Linked DNA regions of Homo sapiens: regions 2, 3, 4, 5, 6 and 7 are each linked to region 1. The links are contacts of gene promoters, found by promoter capture Hi-C in human tissues and cell types (Jung and others, 2019). All regions are on one chromosome and are shown on one strand. The core of a region is centred on a gene start or on the middle of the fragment in contact, and the rest is flanking DNA. Distances in the headings are between cores, read along the strand shown.

The links. Contacts are between HindIII fragments. The study calls those that stand out against the background at their distance.
Region 2: a contact is called between a fragment that was not itself captured here and the fragment with the promoter of SOX2 in region 1, in 1 of the 25 tissues and cell types used here (lymphoblastoid cells).
Region 3: a contact is called between a fragment that was not itself captured here and the fragment with the promoter of SOX2 in region 1, in 2 of the 25 tissues and cell types used here (dorsolateral prefrontal cortex and thymus).
Region 4: a fragment that was not itself captured here is called in contact with the fragment with the promoter of SOX2 in region 1 in 1 of the 25 tissues and cell types used here (lymphoblastoid cells).
Region 5: a fragment that was not itself captured here is called in contact with the fragment with the promoter of SOX2 in region 1 in 2 of the 25 tissues and cell types used here (dorsolateral prefrontal cortex and lymphoblastoid cells).
Region 6: a contact is called between a fragment that was not itself captured here and the fragment with the promoter of SOX2 in region 1, in 1 of the 25 tissues and cell types used here (lymphoblastoid cells).
Region 7: a fragment that was not itself captured here is called in contact with the fragment with the promoter of SOX2 in region 1 in 3 of the 25 tissues and cell types used here (dorsolateral prefrontal cortex, hippocampus and lymphoblastoid cells).

What each region holds. Positions count from the first base shown.
Region 1 is chr3:181,710,456-181,713,328 of GRCh38, forward strand. It overlaps SOX2 (SRY-box transcription factor 2), which reads left to right and starts at 1,470. Exons shown (of 1, transcript NM_003106.4): 1 at 1,470-2,873. The coding sequence starts at 1,906. The coding sequence ends at 2,859. The region is part of intron 6 of SOX2-OT (SOX2 overlapping transcript); the gene reads left to right. RefSeq lists enhancers at 1-752, 753-1,605, 1,606-2,459, 2,460-2,873, a promoter at 698-1,731 and a silencer at 1,311-1,370. The HindIII fragment of the contact is 19,833 bases long and covers 1-2,873 here.
Region 2 is chr3:182,511,884-182,514,756 of GRCh38, forward strand. No RefSeq gene overlaps it. Among named protein-coding and RNA genes, the nearest start is that of LINC01995, 6.2 kb to the left of the region's middle. The HindIII fragment of the contact is 5,075 bases long and covers 1-2,873 here.
Region 3 is chr3:182,478,082-182,480,954 of GRCh38, forward strand. All of the region lies in intron 1 of LINC01994 (long intergenic non-protein coding RNA 1994), which reads right to left. Among named protein-coding and RNA genes, the nearest start is that of LINC01994, 6.8 kb to the right of the region's middle. RefSeq lists a silencer at 1,940-2,234. The HindIII fragment of the contact is 3,538 bases long and covers 1-2,873 here.
Region 4 is chr3:182,419,812-182,422,684 of GRCh38, forward strand. No RefSeq gene overlaps it. Among named protein-coding and RNA genes, the nearest start is that of LINC01994, 65 kb to the right of the region's middle. The HindIII fragment of the contact is 6,103 bases long and covers 1-2,873 here.
Region 5 is chr3:182,392,258-182,395,130 of GRCh38, forward strand. No RefSeq gene overlaps it. Among named protein-coding and RNA genes, the nearest start is that of LINC01994, 93 kb to the right of the region's middle. The HindIII fragment of the contact is 3,745 bases long and covers 1-2,873 here.
Region 6 is chr3:182,366,709-182,369,581 of GRCh38, forward strand. No RefSeq gene overlaps it. Among named protein-coding and RNA genes, the nearest start is that of LINC01994, 120 kb to the right of the region's middle. The HindIII fragment of the contact is 5,801 bases long and covers 1-2,873 here.
Region 7 is chr3:182,302,622-182,305,494 of GRCh38, forward strand. No RefSeq gene overlaps it. Among named protein-coding and RNA genes, the nearest start is that of LINC01994, 180 kb to the right of the region's middle. The HindIII fragment of the contact is 3,492 bases long and covers 1-2,873 here.

The sequences.
Region 1 (2,873 bases), core at 220-2,719:
ACAACAAGAGAAACAAAACTACCTATTTGTAACGGACGTGCTGCCATTGCCCTCCGCATTGAGCGCCTACCTATTGAAATCTTTACGTCGGGACAATGGGAGAGCGGCTAAAATTACCCTCTTGGGTCCTGGGCGGGCAAGATTCCTGAGCCCCTACCCCCGCCCCCATCTCATCCTCCTCTAACCCGGGCCTTGCTGGGCTCCCCCTTCCCCAGTCCCGGCCGCCTTCTCCCAGTGTGCGCTGCCTGCACCTGTGCCTGGAGAGCATCGACCCCGCCTCCCAGGCCTTGAGCCCCTTTGCGGCGCAGCCCCAGCCTTGCGCGGCCTGGGCTTTGCGGCCACCACAATGGAAATCTACGGGGAAAATGCCAGGGCTGGTTCTGCTGGAGTCCTGGGAACTCTGCGTGGGAGGGAGTTTGTGACTGCGGCCCAAAAGCCACCTCCATACAGTGCCGTGGGATGCCAGGAAGTTGAAATCACCCTCCCCCATCGCCTGCACTTTTGAGCGCCCTTCCGTCTGTGTCTTTCCCCAGCCCCCATTTGAAAGCCGCACGACCGAAACCCTTCTTACGGGGAGGCATGGGATGGGAATGGGGAGTGGGGGCAGACAGTAGAAGCATCCCCTTTGCTACGGTTGAATGAAGACAGTCTAGTGGGAGATGTGGCTGGGGCTAAGAGGAAGAGCTGCAGTTTCCTGGGCCAAAGAGCTGAGTTGGACAGGGAGATGGCAGCTTACCAAGGCCTGCTGGTTCTCAGCTCTAGAGTCTGCCTTATGGTCCGAGCAGGATTTATTTTTAAGAACAGAGCAAGTTACGTGGAAGCAAGGAAGGTTTTGAGGACAGAGGTTTGGGTCTCCTAACTTCTAGTCGGGACTGTGAGAAGGGCGTGAGAGAGTGTTGGCACCTGTAAGGTAAGAGAGGAGAGCGGAAGAGCGCAGTACGGGAGCGGCACCAGAGGGGCTGGAGTTGGGGGGGAGTGCTGTGGATGAGCGGGAGAACAATGACACACCAACTCCTGCACTGGCTGTTTCCAGAAATACGAGTTGGACAGCCGCCCTGAGCCACCCACTGTGCCCTGCCCCACCCCCGCACCTTAGCTGCTTCCCGCGTCCCATCCTCATTTAAGTACCCTGCACCAAAAAGTAAATCAATATTAAGTTTAAAGAAAAAAAAACCCACGTAGTCTTAGTGCTGTTTACCCACTTCCTTCGAAAAGGCGTGTGGTGTGACCTGTTGCTGCGAGAGGGGATACAAAGGTTTCTCAGTGGCTGGCAGGCTGGCTCTGGGAGCCTCCTCCCCCTCCTCGCCTGCCCCCTCCTCCCCCGGCCTCCCCCGCGCGGCCGGCGGCGCGGGAGGCCCCGCCCCCTTTCATGCAAAACCCGGCAGCGAGGCTGGGCTCGAGTGGAGGAGCCGCCGCGCGCTGATTGGTCGCTAGAAACCCATTTATTCCCTGACAGCCCCCGTCACATGGATGGTTGTCTATTAACTTGTTCAAAAAAGTATCAGGAGTTGTCAAGGCAGAGAAGAGAGTGTTTGCAAAAGGGGGAAAGTAGTTTGCTGCCTCTTTAAGACTAGGACTGAGAGAAAGAAGAGGAGAGAGAAAGAAAGGGAGAGAAGTTTGAGCCCCAGGCTTAAGCCTTTCCAAAAAATAATAATAACAATCATCGGCGGCGGCAGGATCGGCCAGAGGAGGAGGGAAGCGCTTTTTTTGATCCTGATTCCAGTTTGCCTCTCTCTTTTTTTCCCCCAAATTATTCTTCGCCTGATTTTCCTCGCGGAGCCCTGCGCTCCCGACACCCCCGCCCGCCTCCCCTCCTCCTCTCCCCCCGCCCGCGGGCCCCCCAAAGTCCCGGCCGGGCCGAGGGTCGGCGGCCGCCGGCGGGCCGGGCCCGCGCACAGCGCCCGCATGTACAACATGATGGAGACGGAGCTGAAGCCGCCGGGCCCGCAGCAAACTTCGGGGGGCGGCGGCGGCAACTCCACCGCGGCGGCGGCCGGCGGCAACCAGAAAAACAGCCCGGACCGCGTCAAGCGGCCCATGAATGCCTTCATGGTGTGGTCCCGCGGGCAGCGGCGCAAGATGGCCCAGGAGAACCCCAAGATGCACAACTCGGAGATCAGCAAGCGCCTGGGCGCCGAGTGGAAACTTTTGTCGGAGACGGAGAAGCGGCCGTTCATCGACGAGGCTAAGCGGCTGCGAGCGCTGCACATGAAGGAGCACCCGGATTATAAATACCGGCCCCGGCGGAAAACCAAGACGCTCATGAAGAAGGATAAGTACACGCTGCCCGGCGGGCTGCTGGCCCCCGGCGGCAATAGCATGGCGAGCGGGGTCGGGGTGGGCGCCGGCCTGGGCGCGGGCGTGAACCAGCGCATGGACAGTTACGCGCACATGAACGGCTGGAGCAACGGCAGCTACAGCATGATGCAGGACCAGCTGGGCTACCCGCAGCACCCGGGCCTCAATGCGCACGGCGCAGCGCAGATGCAGCCCATGCACCGCTACGACGTGAGCGCCCTGCAGTACAACTCCATGACCAGCTCGCAGACCTACATGAACGGCTCGCCCACCTACAGCATGTCCTACTCGCAGCAGGGCACCCCTGGCATGGCTCTTGGCTCCATGGGTTCGGTGGTCAAGTCCGAGGCCAGCTCCAGCCCCCCTGTGGTTACCTCTTCCTCCCACTCCAGGGCGCCCTGCCAGGCCGGGGACCTCCGGGACATGATCAGCATGTATCTCCCCGGCGCCGAGGTGCCGGAACCCGCCGCCCCCAGCAGACTTCACATGTCCCAGCACTACCAGAGCGGCCCGGTGCCCGGCACGGCCATTAACGGCACACTGCCCCTCTCACACATGTGAGGGCCGGACAGCGA
Region 2 (2,873 bases), core at 241-2,740, 800 kb after region 1:
TGAGGAAGACATAATAACAGCTTATCATAATGCAATGTGATGAGCTTAGTGACAGTGCTATGCATAGGATAATGTGAATGTCAACGGAGAAGTGCCTACCTAGTAGGAGAAGAATGATCAGGAAGTTAGAGAAAGGTTTCTTCATGGGGTGACCTCAAAAGGGAGAATGGCAGGGAGCTACCAAATTCCTGACATATGTATAACAATTCACAATTTATAACATTTTTCTCATATATTATTACAATACTGCCTTTTTCGTATCCCCTTGAGCACTTGTATTGTATTTGATATCGTGAATTTATCTGTGCTTTAGTTTACCTTTCCAAGAAGGTGAATTTCCTTTAGAGTTTTCTCATATTTTTTTTTCTATCTGTGAAATGCATCTCACTAAACTCAGCCTTCAACCTGAGGTCATAGTAAAAGAGAAATTAAGTTTGGGTCTCCCATATATGTCTTTTTTTTTCCATATATTCCTTAGAGCAAAAATTTTTGAGTGCTATTAAATTTTCAAGAAACGAATAAGATAACATTTTTTCAAAAGAGTGAGATTTAAACATTCAAAGTCTGTGAACAGTTTAAATCACATGAAGAAAGTTTTTGTTTGTTCCTAATGAAGGTTTATTTGGAATTCTTTGCTGAAGTACAAAAGGGGAGACCTTGAACCCTGGAGGAGTCTGGCTTGACAAGGAGAAAGTAGTTTTGTCTATGGAAACCCTTAAAGATATTGCCACTGAAGGTAGGACCAAGGCTCACCTCATTGACTAATGGGTATGGTTAATCTTTCAGCCTACATGGTAATATCATTTACAGCCCATGTTTTAACCATCCAAATCTGTTTGATAATAACCTGTGGTTTATTGACATTCAGTGATACACTGTTATCAGTTCTCATGATGTGTCATCTGCAGAGATGGCACCTCTTATTGCTCCTTTAAAATAAAAATTGAAGAACATCTAATTTTCTTCAGTGACATGTTAGACTCATGACAGCCTACATTCCTCCTTCTTTAGAATAATTTTTGAGAAAGAATATAAGTTAGGTCTTTCCCATCCCTACCAGGTGCAGGAAAGAAGACATCTTTCCTGCTCCCTCATCCCTGCATGTCTGCATGTCTGTGTAGAGAAATCTTCTAAGGATTTTTTTTTTTTTTTTTGAGATGGAGTTTCGCTCTCGTTGCCCAGGCTGGAGTGCAATGGCTCAATCTCGGCTCACTGCAACCTCCGCCCCTCAGGTTCAAGCAATTCTCCTGCCTCAGCCTCCCGAGTAGCTGGGATTACAGGCATGTGCCACCACGCCTGGCTAATTTTGTATTTTTAGTAGATATGGGGTTTCACCATGTTGGTCAGGCTGGCCTCGAACTTCTGACCTCAGGTGATCTGCACACCTCGGCCTCCCAAAGTGCTGGGATTACAGGTGTGAGCCACAGCACCCAGCCTCTTCTATGGATTTTTTAAATCAATTACAGAAACTTGGTGGTGGGATCATGGGGTGGTGGAAGGCAGGGCAGCATGTGGGGAGCATAGCAATCGCTTCTATGCATGTGGCCGACTCTCCATTCATTCCGCAGTGAAGGGAGCAGCACTACACTAGAAGTCAAACAGCCTGAGTCCTAGCCCAGCTCTCCCTCTTACTAACTGTGTGACTGTGTGACCTCTCTGCTCTAAAGCTTCATTTTTCCTTGTCTTCAAATGGAATGATAATGCCCTGCCAGTGTCATCCCTGGGATGCTTAAGAGAGGTTCAAATGAGTCAAAACAGGTGAAAGCACTGTGAAAAGTCTAAAGTGCCAAGTACTGTACCCGAGGCCTCTCTTGATTATGTACACTATTTGGGCAAGAGCTTGGGCCCAGGGTCGAACCCATCTGAGTTAGAATCCTGGCACTGTCTCCTGTCAACCGTATGACCCTGCACAAGCTTCACTCTCTAAGCTTCATGTTCTTCATCTATAAAATGGAGAGCACTCACCCTCAAAGAGTTGTAAGGATTTAATGAGATCATAAATGTGGCACCCTGACAGTGTCTGGAATAGAGGTTTCTCAATGGATGCTGGCTCATATCATTAGTGAAGAGCTACAGCTGTATGGATCAGATCACCCTTTGCTGCAGTGTGGGAGAATGAGACTCATCAAGTGTGCTTGGAAATCCCATCAGATGTAAAATTCATATGTCACTTCCTCGTTGGAAGATTTTTCTCACTCCCCAACCCCTGTGCAGTTTACTAGTCTCTCTCCCATACCACTTCTGTTTGAATATTCTATTGCGTTTAGTAGGCACCATTTTGTAATTTCTTTACTTACATGTGTCCTCTAGTAGACTGTAAGAAACTTGATGCTGGAACTCTGTACTGCTCATCTCAGAATCGTTCATGCCTAAGACAGTGCTCACCTCACAGTAGGCACTTAATAAATGCTTTGGAATGGGATATGTGAATATATGCTATTCTGCTGTAAGTCAGCCTTCAGATAAGTGATGGAGACATAAATATGAAGTGCTGTGACACAGGGGAAAAAGCAACATCCTCAGGGATTAGTAGAGGCTTCACTCCAGCATTCTCTCCCACTCTCTCTGCAGTGTCAAGTCAGAGAGATCTGATGCCTCTGCTATGCAGTTCAGGCAAATATTCATAACTCAATTATTTTACTGGCCCTATAAAACCAATAAAAATGAAGCAAAATCATGCTGGAAATCAATATTTAAAATTCAGTTAACTCCATAGTTTGCCAGATTTTGTATCCCTGATAAAATGTCACAAAATCCTGAACTCCAAAGAGAACAAACAGTGTCAGAATCAGGAAGGCTAAAGCTATTACTAGATGAAGTGGCTGTCTTCCCACACAGCATGATTTCCAGATATAACCACAAGACCCTGGCCT
Region 3 (2,873 bases), core at 193-2,692, 770 kb after region 1:
CTTTATGTGCATAATCCTCTGAACCAGCCCAGCAGCCCAGTGTCACCTTCTGCTACAGAGAAAGAGAGAAGGGAAGGTTGTGCAAGAAGAGATGCTTTAGCTTTCCTTTCAATTTTTTTTTTCTTCCTCACTCCCCTATTGGAAGGAAAGAAAATACGAGCATAAAGAAGGTACCACTTATTTTACCAAAACTTCAAAAGACACCAAATCCAGGTCTCCAGGTAAGTTTCTGGAGTATTCCAGTTATCTTTGATTATGGTTCCAATTAGGATAAGTTTTGCTAAAATGAGTTAGGTATTTCTCTGTGCCTGCCATGGTCATATAATGGAGACAATCAGTCATTTACTGTACACATCAGTGCAGGACTGAGGGAAGGCTTTTAGAAGATGTGGGACTCCACCTTTTCAAAGGGTCAAAGGGCAGACAATTTCACAATAAAGGGCAGAGAGACTTGGACCTCAAGGTTATGGGAGAAAACCTGCTATCTGATCAGAGTGCAAATTGCTCCAAGGATTGGCTGTCAATCACAGAAGAATAAGTAGACCATTATATTTTACTGTCTGCTCCTTGCATAGACTAAATTAGAGCAGTTTGTGTACTTTTTATCACTTTCTTTGTACTTTATGTTGTTAAAAAAATGAATATGGCATATATCCAGTTTTGCCATCAGAGCTTCAAATACAAAGAATATTGACAGAATATTTTTAATAATTTTTTTAAAAATCTTCCCTGGCTATATAAGAGATAAAGCTGTTTTGTTGAACCATACAAATAGAAATTACAGGAATTAGCCATAAAAATATGGATACTGCCTACTTAAAGCTTACATATTTTTACAAGTAAATGATAGAGCAGGGTTTAAATGCAGGTCTGTCCAAACTCATACCGCATAGAAAATTGTGAAAATTAAATACAACGAACTCTAAAAACTAACTTAGGGCAGTGCCTGGCATGCAATAAGCACCCAATAAAGAACACGCACACGCACATTTCATTTCTGCATTTGTCCACAGGGCCCTACTCACTGTATACTCCGCACTCCATGGACTTTAAATACAGCTACCTAAGTGACACAGTAGCCCAGCAGCTGGTTAAACATCAGCAAGTAGAAATGACAGAATGGACAAAGAGGCTATAGAGAAAGGAAGGAATAGTTTTTAAGGTGTGCTACCTGGAGAAAAAGAAGGCTCTGTGAGGTAGCCTAGATGAGGATGGGGGAAAAGTTCTTTAAAAAAGACAACAGGTAAGGGAAATGGTACTGGCTTAGTGGCAAGTAGGAAGATTATAGGATGCAGTGTGCGACTGAGTTCTGCCAGCCACTAGACCTTACTAACAGCCTGTCTCTGAGTCTCTTTTTCTGCAGATGGAGGTCATAGGTGAAAAAAGGATATGTCGAAACCCTGAGTAGATGTACGACAGAAGTAGAAACAAAGTCTCCTCTTTGTTTGCCCTGGGATGTAGCCATATTTCCTTATGACCATATCCCCTGTCTGGCTTGCAGACTACTGTACAGTTTTTGCATTTTTTCTTCAGAAATGACTCACAAATGCTATATTATTTTACCTTCCCAAATTGCTTTCCATAAACCAAAAAAAGGGGGGCTTGGAGTGATATTATAAACATGGCACATCTGTTTTTAATAAATGAAGAAGTATTATAAAATTTTTACTTTGGGGAAATATCCAGAATTTTTTCCTGAAGAAAAATTGTATCCATCTGGTCCCATGAGAGCTGGTTTTTACATTAAGGAATATTTGTTGGTTGGGTGATTGGAGAGTGGGAGTGGGGAAAAGGGGGAAGTTGTTAGATCCAACACTTATCGTTAAGTGGAGTTAGTTTCTAAAAATGTAGCATCCAGAAACTGGTGAGTAATCCTTCTTCGTAGTGCAATATTATGTCACCAGATCTGCTGAGCTAATGCACAATAAAATTAATCCTCCATTTCTGCAAATGCTGGTGATATGGCAATCACAGATGTGCTGAAATAGAAGTGTTCATGCCAGGCAGAGTTCACGAGCCACAGATCTAGCCAATTGTCAAATTTCCGGCCCACACTTCACTCCAAACCCACGCTATCTGAAGGGAGGAGGAAGTGGCTGAAGATTCACTTATCAGCTTTCCAACCCTATCTCATCTCTTTCTCCAGAGTTGTTATTGCACATTTTTGCCATTATTTTACAATTTCCAGCCAACTTGGCAACATACTATTTATGAAGACAGTATGTGGTAGGGCTCGGGCAGGAGAAGTGAAAGTAGGTAAGGGCAAAGAACTGACATTCATGGGCATGGGCATTAAATGGGGCCTTCTAGATTTAAATTTCCCAAAAACCTTGTGGAGCTGGTGTTACACTTCCAATTTTAGACTGGAAGAAACTGCCCAGTAAGCATACCAAAATCAGTACAACCCCAAGCTCTTTCCATTATACCATGTTGATCCAGTCAGCATGTCTATGCTTACATTCTTCTTCTGAATGATCCCTACTGATTTCCAAAAAGGAAGCACTAGGTGAAAGGAATTTAGGGTCAATCTAGTTTAATAACCCAGCCCAACGAATGGCAAAGTAAAGCAAAAGTTACCCTTAACTCACTGGTCCAGTCCATTGTGGCCGTTCATGACTATACTGCGATATCAATGGGGATCTTCTTTTCAGAATCTGGCCACATGCTCATGGAATCAACACCAAGCCCCTCAAAACTCCAGGAAAGAGATTCTGATTGATTAAGCTTGGATCACAAGCCCACTTCCTGGCTAGAGAAAGACAGAATCCCTTGACCAATATAACACCATATGCCAAGGAGAATTGGGTTGCTGTTACCAAAAAGCCAAAATAAAAGATAGCCACTAGAATGGTACTTTTAGAAACCTGCAGTCA
Region 4 (2,873 bases), core at 195-2,694, 710 kb after region 1:
GAAGGATCTAGAACTAGAAATACCATTTGACCCAGCCATCCCATTACTGGGTATATACCCAAAGGATTATAAATCATGCTGCTATAAAGACACATGCACACGTATGTTTATTACGGCACTATTCACAATAGCAAAGACTTGGAGCCAACCCAAATGTCCATCAATGATAGACTGGATTAAGAAAATGTGGCACATATACACCATGCAATACTATGCAGCCATAAAAAACGTTGAGTTCATGTCCTTTGTAGGGACATGGATGAAGCTGTAAACCATCATTCTGAGCAAACTATCGCCAAGGACAGAAAACCAAACACCGCATGTTCTCACTCATAGGTGGGAATTGAAAAATGAGAACACTTGGACACAGGGTGGGAAACATCACATACTGGAGCCTGTCATGGGGTTGGGGGAGGGAGGAGGGATAGCATTAGGAGATATACCTAATGTAAATGGCGGTTTTAATTGGTACAGCACACCAACATGGCACATGTATACATATGTAACAAACCTGCATGTTGTCCACATGTACCCTAGAACTTAAACTATAACAATAAAAAAATTTTAAAAAGAATAAGATTCAGTTAAAGTGTCACCTTGGAGACAATACCTTGCTGGACTTGGGCAAAGTTTTTCAGAAGGTTATATATGCTATGAATCAGCATTCAGTATATGATGCTGTTTATCCAATAGACAGAATTAATAGGTTCAGGGATCAAAGAGTGGAAACGGAAGAGTCACCACTCATTATTATCCCTTGTGACCCACTAGCAAACTTTTGCTTCCTATTCTAGTGACTTTATGTTCTGCTGGCCTAGAGATCTTAGTTCCGGAAGGAGGAATGCTTCCAGCAAGAAACAAAATAATTCCACTGAACTGCATGTTAAGATTTTCACCCAGCTACTTTGGGCTCTTTATGCCTCTGAATCAACAGGAAAAGAAGGGAGTTACAGTGTTGGCCTGAGTGAATGATCCAGGCTACAAAGGGGAAATTGGACTACTCCTCCACAAAAATAAGGAAAAGTATGTCTGGTATACAGGAGATCCCTTAGGGAGTCTTTTAGTATTACCACACCCTGTGGTAAAGGTCAGTGTAACACTACAACAGCCCAATCTAGGCAGGGCTACTAATAGCCCAGATTCTTCAGGAATGGTTTGGTTCACCTCATCAGGCAAAGAACCATGACCAGCTGACATGCTTGCTGAAGGCAAGGGGAATACTGAATGAATAGTAGCAGAAGGTAGTTATAAATACCAGCTATGATCATGTGACCAGTTACATAAATGAGACTTTAATTATCATAAGAATTTTCTCCTTATTTTTTATGAATACACTTGTGTATATACATATATATATATATATATATATATATATATATATATACACACACATTAAACAGATATCTTTGTTTTCTTTCTGTTCTTATTTCCTTATTATATAACAGAAGATGTATTGACTTTATGGCAGCATTTAAGTACTGTTATTTTTATATTATTGTATTTAAGGAATATCAGGGGAAGAATAAACATCACTCAAGAACTTTCACTTCCTCTTTTGGGGGAGGGATTAGTATTAGCGCCTTTTCCCTTGTATTCAAGATAGTTGTATCATGTTAGGCAAAATAATGATTTTGTTATTATCTGTATTTGGAGATTAAGCATGATTTACAAAAAGACATGTGGGTACCAACGTGACAAGGAGTGGACTTGTGGTGGTTAATTTTACGTGTCAACTTGACTAGGCAAAGAAAAGCCCAGATAGCTGGTACATTATTTCTGGATGTGTCTATGAGGATGTTTCCAGAAGAGATTAGAATTTGAATCGGTAGACTGAGTAAAGATCATCCTCACCAGTGTGAGTGGACTTGACCTTGTCTGTTGAGGGCCTAAATAGAACAAAAAGGTGGAGAAAGGGTGAATTTGCTGCCTGTGCTTGAGCTGGAACACTCATCTTCTCCTTCTCTTGGACATCAGCACTCACGGCTCTCAAGCCTTCAGACTCTGAATGGGTCTTACACCATCGGCCTCCCCTGGATCTCAGGCCCTCAGGCTGAGACTGAAATTGCGCCACTGGCTTTGCTGGCTCTCCAGCTTGCAGACAGCAGACTGTGGGACTTGCCAGCCTTCAAAATCATGTAAGCCAATTCTTCACAATATTTTTTTTAATCTATCTATCTACCTATCTATCCATTTATCTATCTACCTACCTACCTACCTACCTATCGCTCCATCTATAGCCTATTGGTTCTGTTCCTCTGAAGAACCCTGGCTAATGTACCTTTTATAAGGGCTTTACTTTTCTTTCCCACTTTCTAATATTATTCTTCTTTCTGGGGAATTTCAGTGTGAGTATCTTTTAAAATCACCCCTATATCATTGTGCTTTTTCACATGTCCATCTACCTATATGTACAAAGGTATGTGTGTTTGTATGTTTGTCTGTCATGCTAGGGTTGCAGTATGAGCATTATCATTTATTCTGTGCAGATTCCTCTTGTTATACAACCAACCAGAACATCCTTGATTGTTTTCAAATATGGATATCTGATGGGTATGTAATATACATTTATATAATCAATAATATATGAGACATATAATATATATACAATGTTTTCAAGATGTACTCTTGCCTTCCTTTCCTAATTTGCCTCATGTAAAAATTTTTCTTTTCATACCAGTCACAGTGGCGTGTGCCTGTAATCCCAGCTACTCAAGAGGCAGAGGTGGGAGGATGACTTGAGCTCAAGAGTTCAAAACTGCAGTAATCTATTATTGTGCCACTGCACTCTAGCCTGAGTGACAGAGCAAGACCTTTTATCTAAATAAATATGTATATACATACTCACATCAAATATTTTTTCTCTACTCTTCATC
Region 5 (2,873 bases), core at 275-2,774, 680 kb after region 1:
TGTGAGTCTATAGGCAAGACATTTTATGAAAATCTGCCCAAGATTTAGATCACTCCTGTACTTAACTGGGTTTACAAGGCCCTTTCTTTCTATGCATTTATTTTGCATTTAGGGTAAGAAACCACCAGGTGGACTCCTGAGCCTTTTTTAGAGCCTCATGGTTCAAACAGCTAGGCTTCCTGCAGGTATAGTTCACAAAGAAATATAGTTTTTTTTTTTCCCCCACGAAAACAACTTTTATTAAAACAGTGAAGTGCAAATATTAAATATATAAGGACTCTTTTTCTAGAAAGAATACAGAACATAGAGCAAGACTTGGAGGAGTAAAAACAGCATGGATTTTTAGAGCTGGAAAATCTCTTTTCTAATTCAAACTCTGAAATGATGGCCCAGAGTAGCTCAGTGACTTTACCAAGGCTACACTGCCAGTCCAGGGAAGAGCTGAGAGCAGACTCCTAATCTACAAGCTTCCTGTTAGTCTTCTACTGAACACGTTCCTCACGTACCTCCTGTTAATGACTCTTTACAACCCACCAAGGCTTCTTTTCACACTCGAGTTAAGATAGGATGTTTCCTTAAATTCACCTTGAATCTCTTCACCTAAGCCTGTACACAACTTTGGGACTTTTCAGGACATTCAAAGCCCCTGTGTAAGGCCCCACATAATAACTCCTCACAAGACAGCTCTTATCTTCCTGCTTATAACTCCTTAAGAACTGCCAGCATTGCCTGCATACCCCCTGCTCCTAGTCCTTGTTTTACATATAGTGGCAAAGTCAAAAAAGAAAAAAAGAGAGATATGTATAATTGTTTATACAGTTGTAATTGTCTCAAGCAAATGGAGAGGATTTATTTCTTTTCCACCTGGACTAATTCTTCCCAAACTTCTCCATATTCTGACTTTTTGATACTTTCAAATATAAATATATTGCTATGTTTACTCTTTAAGCATTTGTTCCTTGAAGAGACGTTTTCAAGCACCTATTAGGTGCCAAGCAGGGTTACTGGGTACTGGAACAGCAGCAAAGCCACACTGTGCCTGCCCTGATGGTGCTAACACTTTAAAGGGGAGAGGGACCAGGGAATGAGCAGCATGCAAATACATTTGTATGTTTAGATTGTACAGTGAGTGTAAAGGAAAACAATGAGGGAAGTGAGAATGAATGCTGTGGATATCCACTTTAAGTTGAAGAAGTGGCAAAAAAATTACAGCTTCTTTCCTGTGATTTTATAATCTGTCTTTGTGACAAAATCTGTACTTTTCTAGTGGGATGTTACTTGTTTTCTCAGAATAAAACTTTCAGAAAAAGAGACATAAGATCATTTCTCCATATCGCCTTAACTTCCTCGTCTATAAAATAGGTAATCATAATGCTCCTCAGCCTACCGACCTCATATAGGTACTTTGTGAATAAAATAAGTCCATAAATGTGAGGTTGCCTCCAATATGTCACGTATTATTTAGAACAACTAATAGAATTTATACTGAAGTACAGTTTTTTAAAAAAAGAATAACAGCAATACATTTGGAAACATCTTGACAAACAAATAAACATTATGTCTCACCACAGGTTTTGACGGCAATTAAAGATGCCCACTTTCTAAAAATGTAACAAAACTTAGGATTCCCAAGTGAGCCAGCAAATATGCCCCTTTTAGCTTCTGTGCCAGTATTATAGACTCTGCCTTTAATTTTGTTTAACTGTAATAAAAGCTTATCATGCAGCCAAATCCCCACAGCAATGGACTCAAACGTTCTGCATGTGGAAGCCTGCTACCTTTCAGCTTCCCCGTTAAACACCTGTTCTGGGCTTGGGCCATGCTTCTGGTTTCTCATTCAGGTGGAGAGTCTTGCTTAAGGGGACAGGCAGGTATTTTTGCTGTCACCAAAGACAGCTAATTTGGGAAGCCTAATCTCGCAAAGGGGCCAAGTTTCAGCTCTCAGAGTGTTAGGTTTAGAGTAGAAGGAACTCCGCCCAGAAATGCAACCTGAATACTTCCCCCTCTGCCTCTCTCCTGTCATTGCTGAGAATCCTCTAAATAACTGACAACTTTTACAGATTTCAGGCAGCCAGGTCTGCATGGGAAGCTCCCATTCTTTCCTGTCACCGGTCTAATTTAATACTTTCCTCCTCAGATGGATATAGCACTCTTGACAAGCAGTTGCCTTGTGGTTTACTTCTGCTAATTCAAACACAACAATAGGATGATAAATTAGTTACAGGGATTGAAGGAAGGAAGAATTTTACAGGTGTGAATTCTTAGCCATGTCTGATCCAAATATTTCCAGAGGAATCATATGCTAGGCAAATACCATCTCCCCACTTTCCAGGCCTTTGCATCTCTTAATAGAAAAAGATGTCTTTTACAGGCGACAATTTTGCAATTTTGTTTAACCATAAGGATGAATCTTTGCCTGTCCTCCTTTCCAAAGCACTACTATGGAATAAAAAACAAGTTTCATTCAATAGTTCATCGGATAATAAGGATTGGTGATGCCAGTCACTGATTTCATTTCCAAACTGTGACTTAAAATATACAGCAGTGCTAGCAGCTGTTGATCATCTTAATGCTGGTGAGAAACAAAAGCAGTTACTCTCTGTCCCAGACCATTTTGATTTTAGAATGGAGAATTCTGTGCATAAAGTATTAGCTTGAAGGATTTTGTCATTAAAGTTTTGGAGAAAGAGCAAGTAATGTCTCAAGCACCTGCCTACTCAATCATAATCACTATTTCACAAGTAGGGAAATTAATTCTCAAAAAGCTGTGCATGATTTTTATAGTCCCAAAAAAAAATCTGATGGCAGATTAACCTTGAGAACAATTACAATTGGGAACATTGTTGGACTCTGGATATTCATTTATTTATTGA
Region 6 (2,873 bases), core at 273-2,772, 660 kb after region 1:
CATTTCTAAAATTTCTTAGTCTTCACCCCATTTTACACAGAAGACTTCTAAATTTTTAGCACTACAAGGCACATTTGTAGAATAAAATACGTAGAATGTGTATTTAACTTATGTCATATCTTTCCTTTAAGGAGTTAAAATGAGTTGTCATAATGATTTGACTTAATTAACCAATTCAGTCATTCCTTGCCACCACCACCACTCCCAAAAAAAGGTAAATATTATGATACCCTTTTGCACTGGAAATGAAAACAAATGCAATTTTTAAGATCCTAAGCCAATCAAAGACCAGCTCAAATCAAGCTCTTGCATCCAAGACTGCTTTGACTGAGTTGCCAAGTGATCCCACAAGTAACATCTATGTAGGAGGAAGGGGAAATGCGAGCACTGTAAGACCTCATCCTTTAAGGAAGTATAATTGGATGTCTCTTGTGTAACTTAGGCCATTTCAGAGCTTAAGATAAATACACATCAAATATAAGGGGGAAAAAGAGGAATGTATTGATTTTATCCCACTGACAAAAAGAAAAAACAGTTTCTATTGAAATACATACAAATATATTTTAAAACATTTGATAAAGAAAACACAAAAAGAAACAGGATGGACGGAAAGTTATATTCCCTCTAAAGTTACTGAGGACCAAAATGCAGCAGTTTATTTCCAGTTTTCCCAGACAACATGCAGTATAGCAGGAGATTGTCTTTCTGTTCGAAACTCCTACATTCAAGTCTAAAATATTTTATTTAAACTATCAATTTATTTGCTACATACAACTATATCCTCAATATTTATTTTAAATATTATATATACTTTATAAAATATTTCAGAACAGTTACTGAAACTATAACCACATGCATTTTATTGAATATCGACAGATAAAATGCAGGCTTTGGAGTCAGACTGTGTGAGTTTGTAGTCCAGTGTGACCACTTTGTGGCTCTTTAACCTTGGACAAACTTTTGTCTCTGGCCCCACCTTATAGGACAGATATATTAACATCACGTGGTGAGGTGATGAGGACTAAATAAGATATGTTTGTAAAGTTCCAGCATACTGACTGGTAGAGAATAGATTTTGGGGTTCCTCTCTCTCACTGATACATCTTCCTTTTTCTCAGTGAACATTTACCTTTAGCAATCAAAGACATTAATGATTGAATATCTGGTCTTTCTGCTGCAAGGTTAGAATTTCTTCAAGAAACAATGCCAATGCAACTTCAGGAATACCTGACCCCTCCTCCTGTTTTCAACCACTCAGAATCTGTCTCTAACCACTCAGAATCTGTCTCCATCCTGGACTCTGTGTAGTTCCCAGTATCATATTTTCTGATAGTCTTAGAACTTAAGCCACCATTCCCTGCCACACTGATGCCACCTTGTTGATTACTTAACCAAGTGATTTCTTTCAGGTGGAAGAGATGTACCCAGGACCTCTGTAGAAGCAGGTACAAGCTACCAAAAGTTCCTACTTTATTTATTTTGAGTTTGGAATGAGCAACTACAAGGAAAGGAAGAAAATTGTCAAATAAAAGAAAATTTTATAAATTATTTATAAAATCACATTCATTTAAAAGCTAATTCTACTCTTGACTGAATTGCAAATGGAACTAAAATCTTTCTTGGTTCTCATACCTTTCCTTTGCTAGTTTAGGCATTTGTCACCTTTGGCTTTATTGATTTATTCAGAAAGTAGGTATTGAGTACCTACTATGTGCTAGATGCTGAGTAATTTAGACAGTTTGTGAATTGTTTCTTCTTCAAGTCAAGTCTTCCTTCTTCCAGTCTAGTGATTCTCAAAATTTAGTGTGCAACAGAATCACCCAGAGTGATTGTGAACACATTGACTATAGACTACTCCCCCAGGGTCTGATTTAGGAGGTCTGTGTAGGAGTCTGAGAATTCACATTTTTAACCTGTGGGTTCTGGTCTAGGAAACACTTTGAGACCACTTTCTATGTTGTTTCTAATCCATTTGCCATAACCGTCACATGTGTTAACCTCCTCAAATTTAATGTCACTCTATAGAGTAAAAACCCTATTTGGTTCTCCAATCCATAAAATAAAGCCTTATCAAAACCTTCAGGATCTGCCATTCACAGTTGCTACTTTTCCAGCCTCTCCTCCTGATGATGATTACACATGATAAAATACTCTCCACTGTACTGTTCTTTTCTTAGATAAGTTTAACTCTATGCCTATCAAATACTGTATTGGCCCTTTTGGTTCTTTGGAAGCTAAAAGTTTTGAACTTTTCATTTATTAAACAAAAGAAGAGAAGGGTTATCTATTGCCTTTGTAAGTATATTGGCTCAGTGGACACACAAAGCAATCCTTTAGCAGTAGAAACAAGTAATAGCATGATGGAAGGGAACCCTGCCAAGAAGGCCCAAACACCGAAAAAATGTCTTTAAAAATATAGATTTAATTGAAGAAGTATCTGATAACACCACTCACTTTAAATACTCATCAATAGGCTGTTTTTGTTTTACAATAATGTGTCTGAAGATAGTGACAGGAAAAGAGACATCACTGTGCAAACATTAATATCTCACACAACTGCATCAAAGAGAAAAAATGGAACACTAGCTTTCATTTTCATTCAGTGATATTAACCTAAAATAACTTACTGTAGTTTTGCTTGAACTCACCAGGCAAAGTTTTAGTATGTGGTAATGACTACGAAGGAACATTCAAAGTATTACACCTATTTGTGTTGACACACTCTGTGAGAAATGTTGTTTGAAATATGCATTGAAATAAAGCGTCTCCAACTAACTCGAGTAAACACCTTGGTATCATAAAGAGCCAAACTATGCTACTGGATTGTTAAACTCATCTAATTTGGGAGAACTGAGGGTAGAAGAGGAAACGGG
Region 7 (2,873 bases), core at 216-2,715, 590 kb after region 1:
ACTCTGCTAAGTGTTGGGGGCACCAGGGTGAAGATGATAAAGTTCTCGACTTACAAAGCTTAGTTTCTGGAGAAGACAAACAGTAAATAAGCACTTTTAATAAGTTACGCTCAAATTGGCATGAGAACATGGAAGAGGTGGGGTGGTGAATTCTTAGTGGAGGCTTCTGCCATGCACAATGCCTGGGCTGACCTGTGAAGAAGTGTTTTAGTGGGTGGGAAAGGTGATAGAGGCAAAGTGAACAACACAGTCAGTCTGGTGGTTTAGGGAAACAGCCTAGTGTTTTGGCAATGAAATCTCTTGAGTTCGGGTAAGGTAGGGAAAAAGGCCAGCACATGTCTGGCCCCTGTCAGGTGCCACAGAAAAGTAGGAATTTTTCTTGTTCCAAATAAGATCTAGTCCCTGGCCATGCCCTGGTCTTCCAGGAAGATACAATCCATAGGGCCAATCCCAAACTACACCATCGAATGTTCCTTGAGAGCACCTTTGTACTGATTCCTGTAGCACTCAGAATGCCTCATATAAAAATCCCCAGACTGTGCTGGAAACTGTGGGCCTTTCTTGCCACCATCCTCTTTATTAAGGAAAGATTATCAAATGATTACCTGCCACATTTCAGTTACTACAGAGACAAATGATAAACGATCAGACCCTGGCCTTAAGGAATCTACAATCAAGCATTTATCCTTGGTCCCATCTCCTCAGGACTCAGGGCACTCCAAGGTGGCAAGTAGCCAGGAAGGCAAACAAAGCCACACTGTGTTGAGAGAAGACTATCTGCTTAGCCCTCCTTCCCTTTCCAAGTAATATGTGTATATGTATATAAAGAGAGTGTGTGTATGTGTGTATGTCAGTGGCCTTCCTGAAGACACTGCCTTTGTCTTCAGTCTAATCAAATGAAATACAACTTTCAAATTATTCATAAATGTTTTCATATTAGCTTCTTTAGGAAGCTTTATGAACTTTCAGAGCGTTTTAATACTTAAAATTTTTTTAACGTTGGTTCCTTTTACGATAAGATATGGAAGACAGATGTAAAAAATATATAAGCTTTTCAAAAATGAATAATGTTTTTCTATAGGCATTTTATATTAGCTGGAAGGGGAGAATGGCATGGGCATGAGACGGTGGGGGATATATTTGGTTCATAAACATTGGCATAACTAATAAACAATTATGGAGTGTCTTCTAGGTGCAGGGTGCTGGGGCTACAAAGGATTTCGGTGAGTGGTACCTGCCTTCATGAGCCTGGCCATCACCCTGGGGAGATAGACAAGCATCAGGGCAGGAGCATGGGAGACTAGGTGGAGAAGCAAAAGCACAGAGCCAGGGGTGATGTACGAAGGCTTAGATGACAAGAGGTTTTTGCATCTAGAACACTGAGCAGCAATAGCAGGCATGAGAGACATAGGGAGATTAATAAGATACTATGTCCCTGAGAATGAGCCCTATCTGCCCTTTTGGCTACAGTGGGAAACCCTAGACCTTTGAGAAACCATTATGGCTTGTTAGGCTTCAGGATGGAGAAATTCTGCCTGCTCTGGCAAGAGAGGCTCCTGGCTTGCACTCCTAGTGGGCAGCTCCTGAAGGAGAGGCTGTGGCCTGGAGCAAGGGTGGCGAGGTTGGCTGTTAAAGCTTCCAATATTTAAAGTCTGGTCTCTGGGCCTTGATGACCTCTCAGGACTCAACTCAGATTTTGTAAATCATGGTAGCCGATGTTAGGGTGACCATATAATTTATTGTCTAAACTAGGAAACTTCTGAAAGAGAAAGAGGGCATCATTAATAACTGGGCACAAACAACAGATTTAAATGAGGACTCTCCTGGCTTGAGATGTAGAGCCTCCCTAGCTGTTAACCATCAACACCTCCTAATGCATGGCCATGCATGGTGCCTGCTGGTGTTTTTTAGCCTAGTTCCATCACACACACCTTAATAATTAGAAGAAACAGAGGAATTTAAGGCAATGATCAGTTAATCCTGAGAGAGGGAAGCCAAGTTTCACAACTAGAGAGAGCCCAGAGTGTTACTAATAAAATAATCCAAAATATTATAAAATCATTAACCATACTTAAGTAAATAAATTCCAGCTGTAATTCATCCCAGAGCACAACACACAGAACTGCCCATATAAGAAGCAGTTCAACAATGAGAACACATGGACACAGGGAAGGGAACATCACACACTGGGGCGTGTCAGTGGGTGGGGGTCCAGGGGAGGGAGAGCATTAAGGCAAATACCTAATGCATGTGGACCTTAAAACCTAGATGACGGGTTGATGGGTGCAGCAAACCACTATGGCACATGTATACTTACGTAACAAACCTGCACATTCTGCACATGTATCCCAGAACTTAAAGTAAAATAAAAGAAGAAGAAAAAGCCGTTCAACTGCAAGTCACACTTGCATGGGGTGTGCTCTCTGGATGTTAGCTTGGGGCTCCTACAGGATACCTGCTCTGTTTTCTTTGTTCTCTGGGTTTCTTCTGCAGGTCTTTCCTGGATGCCCCAGTTTATTTATCCAGAAGATAACTGCCTATATCTTTTTGGGGGTCCCCAATGTATAATTCACATTAGCTTATGAATCAAGTGAGATAATCCCAAACACATTCTTCAAAGGCAGTAAAAATCTTTCTAGCCATTTATTTTAATCTGATGTGAAAATCAATGAACAGATTGGAATTTAATATGCTTTATAAATTATTGGGAAGTGGAAAAAAAAGACTCCTTTCTTGAGGTCACTGATTTGTGAAGACAGTGTTTGCTTTGGGGACAGAGTTTACGTATTAAAAAATTTAAACCTTACAATCATAGGGGTCCTTTTGTTTGAAAGATGACCTAGTGTAATAGAAAAACGTAGATTTTGAAGCCT